Regions from separate parts of the Homo sapiens genome. Here region 1 is linked to region 2. Evidence: promoter capture Hi-C in human tissues and cell types (Jung and others, 2019). All regions are on one chromosome and are shown on one strand. The core of a region is centred on a gene start or on the middle of the fragment in contact, and the rest is flanking DNA. Distances in the headings are between cores, read along the strand shown. Region 1 overlaps PIP4K2A (phosphatidylinositol-5-phosphate 4-kinase type 2 alpha). Region 2 holds the start of SPAG6 (sperm associated antigen 6).

Region 1 (2,700 bases), core at 200-2,699, 360 kb before region 2:
TTTTTTTTTTTTTTTTTTTTTTTTTTTTAACTGGGGTACTGAATATAATACGTAAAGGGGGTAAAAAAGATCCTGCAGCCAAGAAAATTGAAAACCACAGAGGAACATAAAGGGAGTGTCAGGAGATGGTTGAAAGAGTAGTTTGAGGCCACCTTTGAAGGGCCAAGTGGTTGATGTTTGCCAGAGAAAAGCCAGCAGTTCTGACCAGGGTTACTTTAAAATTTGCCACAAATCTCAAATGACACTCGACCCGGAAGTGTTACTGCCTCCTTTAATATGTTCTCCACTCTCTGAAGTCATTTCTTCCTTTTCACTTCTCCTTGAACTTCACCTAGTGTCCTGTCCCCCACTTCCCCCACCCCGTCCTTCCCTCAGCATATAACCTCATTTAGAAAGCATTGAACAAATAGAAGCCGTCAGCTTCCACTCTTCCCACCATCCCATCTAAATTTTGGACAGCTGGGTCCGTCAGTCTACAGACATGCTGGAGGGGCTGCCCTGCCTGGTTTTGTAGCTGCTAGCTATATATGGCAATTTAAATTTCAGCTAATAAAACTTAAAATTCAGTTTCTCATATCAAGTGCTCACTAGCCACATGTGGTTAGTGGTTACTGGATTGAACAGTGCAGATATAGACGATTCCCACCATTGCAGTGTCTTCCACTGACATGGCTCACCATTCCGGGGCCGCCCATCTTGAAAGCAAAATAAACTACAGTAACAGCAGAAGCTCTCCTTCACCCTTAGTCTCTCATTTTAGTGTCTTCTCGTGTTTTCTGTTCCTTTTTTTTTTTTTTTTTTTTCAGATGAGGTCTTGCTTTTTGGCCTGGGCTGGAGTGCATGGTGCAATCATGGCTCACTGCTGCCTCAAACTCCTGGTCTCAAGCAGTCCTGCTTCAGACTCCCTAAGTGCTGGGATTATACATGTGAGCTACCACACCTGCCCTGTTCCTTTTCATAGCAGGAGTGAAAAGCCTTGTCTAAAGCTGAGGTCTCCTATTTCTATAGAGACACCGTACCTGGCAACCGTCAACTTACCTGCGATGATCTCCTTAACTTACCCCAATCTAGCTTTCACCTCCAGCACACCTAGGAAACTGCTCAAGTCAGCATCACTGGCAGTGCTAACATTTTCAAATGCAGGGGGCTCCTTTTTTTTTGTCTCTTGTTTTCCTTCTGCTTCACTAGCCACTCCTTAGGTGCAGGCTCCTCTTTTGCTCAGTCTGGAAATGTTGGAATGCCCCAGGCCTGTGTCCAGGATCATCTTCTACAATTACATTTACTTTACCTACATGATTTCATTTAGTCTCATGGCTTTTTATACCATTTTACAGTCATGATTGAGAAATTTTTAACTTCAGCTCTAACTTTCCTCTTGGGCTCTATATGCAGTTTCTTACCAGGTATCTTCACATGAATAACTAATAGACATCTCAGATGTCCCAAGCAGGCCTCTTGATTTCCTCCCTGCACTCTGCCCCGTCCCCTGTCATAACTTAAACTGGCCTCTTCCCGTCTCAGAAAATGGACCACCATAGACCCAGGTGCTCAAGCTTAAACGTAGGGAGCAACCTTGATTATGCTTTTTTCTCCCCACTCCTTCTCCACATCCAATTTTTGAGTCCCGAATCCACATGCTTTCTATTTGAATCTTCTTTCTCAGGAACACTGTGGTAGCCTCCTGTTTGGTCTCCCGGCATTCAGTTTTGCCCTGTTTCAGTCCACCTTGTCTGCAGCAGTGGCAGAGGAATCTTGCTAAACTGTAGATGATTTCATGTCATGTCCTCAGTTAAACCTTCCAAAGGCTTTACATTGCATTTAGAATAAAATCCAAACCTTTTCTGACCTGCAGGATCTTACTGGCCTGGGCCCCACTTTCCTCCTTGCCCTCATCCCATAACACCCTCTTCATGATTCCTATGTTCCAGCTGCCCTGCGCTTTTTCTGTTCCTAAAGGCAAGCTCAGAGCAGCCACAGTTCTTCAGTCTTTATTTTTCTCTTCGTCGGGAATGTTTTTCCCTCTTTTATTTATTTATTTTTTTATTTGAGACAAGGTCTCGCTCTGTTACCTGGGCTGGAGTGCAGTGGCATGGTCATAGCTCACTGCAGCCTTGAAGTCCTGGGCTCAAGCAATCCTCCTGCCTCAGCCTCCTATGTAGCTGGGACTACAGGTGTGCACCACCATGCCTGGATAATTTTTATAATTTTTGTAAGAGATGGGGGGTCTCGCTGTGTTGCCCAGGCTGGTCTTCAACTCTTGGCCTCAAGTAATCCTCCTGCCTCAGCCTCCCTAGGTGCTGGGATTAGAGGCATGAACCACCATGCCCAGCCTGCCCTCAGATCTTTGGATGGTTGGCTCCTATTAGTTATTTTAGTCTCTTAGCTAAGGGGTTGCCTTCTCAGATGGCCTCTCTGACCTCCTAAGCTAAGGGAGCCCCTCCACTATCATACTGTTATTTTCTCTGTGACACTTAACACTGTTTGAAACTGAGTTGTGTACATTTTTATTGCTTATCTCCCTCAACTAGAACAATAAGTTTCATAGCAACTGAGACTTTTTCCTATTTACTAGGTGTATCCCTGCATCTAGAACAGTGTGTTTAGATAGTAGGTGCTCAGTACATATTGTTGAATGAATGAGTGGGGCTGGGATTCTAAACCGTAGGCCATTAGTTCTCAGGTGGTATACCATGAGGCCTC
Region 2 (2,734 bases), core at 47-2,546:
AATAAATGCCAAAAATCCTAGTGACAAAACGAAGTATCACATAGGTGCAGTAGTAATTCCCCTCAAAGAAACCCAGAGTAATCATTACACTTAAGTATTCTTGCTGTCAACATGTTAATTGTTTAAATTATGTGTTAGTTTTAAAGATCACATCCTATAAACTGAAGATTTCTCATGACACAGTAGTGATAAAATGCTACCTTACAGTTCAGATGGTGGTAGAATCATCCAAAAAAAAAGAAGAAGAAAGAAGAAAGAAGAAAAGAAGAAGAAGAAGAGGAAGAAGAAGAAGAAAGAAGAAGAAGAAGAAGAAGAAGAAGAAGAAGAAGAAGAAGAAGAAGAAGAAGAAGAAGAAGAAGAACCATTTTCTCTTATCAGTTTATGTTATGAGATAAGAAGATCTCTCTCCCTCCCTCTCCCCCTCTCTCCCCCTCTCACATCTGCAAGAGTCCGGACTGAGGAGTAGAAGGAACGCGCCATAAGGATTTCGCAAAGTCTGGTCTCTACCTACTTGGAATTTCTTGGAAAAGATTCAAGCATATCATTCCCCTTTCACTAAAGCAAGACGAGAAATCACGTCTAAACCACTGGAATTGCTTTGCTGTGAGGAAGTCGAAGGTGATCAAAGGCAGGGTGGCATGCAAAATGGCACTTGGATAAAATGGGTCTCATTAGGGTAGAGTCCCATTCACGTAAAATGACTCCAGGCAATTCCTAGGGCCTCGACTTTCAACCTGACACTTGCCTGTGTGCAATGAAGATGGAAACAGGGACAACGCGCACCTCCCACAACCATCTGGAAGCTTCACCCTCTCGGCCTGACCCCCAAAGACCCGCTGAAAAGAATGGATGCTTTTGCGAACTCCGGTCCCCACACTGCGGCTCCCCAAGAGCTCCACGGGCAGGGCAGCGGGGCGGAGGCGTCGGGGACTCAGTGCGCGGGGGGCGACGGGGGTTCGGGCTCCGGGCTCACCCGCGTTCTGCAGCGTCTCGATGTTTTGGGGTCTAGTCGCCAGCTCCGCCACCATCTGCACGAACTGGGTCCTGGCCTTCTGGTATTGCTCGAACACTGCGGGAGAGAGAGTCGGTGGAGCCCACCGCACCCGGGTCTCCTCGGCGCCAGCTAGTTAGGGCACCTGCCCGCCTCGGCCCTACCTTGCAGCACCTGCCTCTGACTCATGGCGCCCCCGCCGCCGTCTGCCCTCCTCGAGCTCTGCGGGGAAGCCGCTCGGCCTGCGAGTCCACCAAGGGGGCGATCGTGGCGACGACTCGGCCTCCGACGGGAGCCGCTTCTCTGTGTACCCGCGTCTCCCGGGCAACCTACCGGAACCGGAACGCGGCCGTCTTGCTGCAACGGCCAGTCCCGGGCGTGACGTCACGGCCGCGGTGCCTGGGCGCACTGAGCGGGGCGGCGGCGCGAAGACGCCCGAGCTCGAGGACTCGGACTGCTGGGGCTCTCAGCGCGCCAGGCTCGCGGAGCCGCCGGGACATCGCGCGCCGTCGAGTATCCCTGCACTGCCCGGAGGTCGGAGCTCCTTACAAAGCGACCCCAGATTGCCGTGGTATCCTGACTGCGGCGCGGGTCGGGACCAAGCGCCGGGAGAGCCCCACGCGCCAAGGGAGCCTGGTTCGAGGGCAGCCAGACGAGTAAATTGCAGCCCTGGAGTTGTCTGAGCTTCGACGGTCCCGAGAAATCTCACACGTCACATTGTACAATCCGATCAACACATGAATGTCAATGCAACTTAAGTGTTGCATTGACATTTAACACTGCACTGACAGTAAAACACTGATTTAGGAATCCGTGTTTTCTTTTGTAACCCGCTGTTATATACCTGGCATTCCTGGTTTCAAGATTCCTGGAGGAGCATGACAACCATGTTCACACACTTAATTACACTGTATTGAAAGCATTTAATGAGCACTCAGAGACTCAGTGAGGAAAGCAGATGAGGAAAGGATGTGATGAATGTCCTGTCTTCCCTGGCTTTCTCCTAATGACTACTAATTTTGCTGTTTCCTCACTTTTATGTGATTTGTAAATATTTTGTCTTAGTCTTTTAAATTTAGGCTTCGTTATGTTGATGAATGACATCTCCAACAGAAAAAGAGAGAGAACCTTTACCTGGAAAACCAGACTTCCCTATCTTATATAACTTGAACCCTTTACCCAGTTTCTTTTAACAAAATTGAAGTACTTAGTCTATTACTGGTTTCTAGCTTGTCTTTGAAAACTATATACCAGTTGTTTCAATGACAGTTGTCAACTTTAAATGTTCCTCCATCAAAAACTACAATTTCACCAGATGTCAAGTGGATACATAGCCGCAGCTGCTGCTAAGTAGTGCCAAGACAGGAAACCCCTTGATATTTCTTCAACAGAAGGGAGCATGCAAACTTAACTGGTTCTATATTTGGAATGAGTCCTCTATATTTATCTTTGAGATCTCACCCTTCACTGAGCTCTTGATGAAGTCCTGATACTTTGTGGAGCTCCAAATAGTTGGGGAATGGTCCAGCAATCAGAGAGAAGAATAAGTGTGTTTAGTCGGGTCCCTAATACCCCCGAAGGGCAGGTACATGTCTTCTGCTTCTGCAGCTCAAAAGCCAGTGATGGCCACAATCTTTTTACTTAATTCAAAGTCGTAAGTTTTACAGTGATATCTATATTTCCCTATGGGAATATGTCCTTTAAAATTAAAGTTATGCGTTCCCATTTAGAGACGTGGGAGGA

What was found. The method cuts DNA at HindIII sites, captures the fragments that hold promoters and counts their contacts. A contact is called where the count stands out against the background at its distance.
Region 1: a contact is called between a fragment that was not itself captured here and the fragment with the promoter of SPAG6 in region 2, in 1 of the 25 tissues and cell types used here (dorsolateral prefrontal cortex).

The regions. Positions count from the first base shown.
Region 1 is chr10:22,702,755-22,705,454 of GRCh38, reverse strand. The region is part of intron 1 of PIP4K2A (phosphatidylinositol-5-phosphate 4-kinase type 2 alpha); the gene reads left to right. Among named protein-coding and RNA genes, the nearest start is that of PIP4K2A, 10 kb to the left of the region's middle. RefSeq lists an enhancer at 1,020-1,079. The HindIII fragment of the contact is 4,107 bases long and covers 1-2,700 here.
Region 2 is chr10:22,344,058-22,346,791 of GRCh38, reverse strand. SPAG6 (sperm associated antigen 6) reads right to left here and starts at 1,296. Exons shown (of 11, transcript NM_012443.4): 1 at 1,156-1,296; 2 at 974-1,069. The coding sequence starts at 1,180. RefSeq lists enhancers at 451-1,267, 1,228-1,447. The HindIII fragment of the contact is 4,842 bases long and covers 1-2,734 here.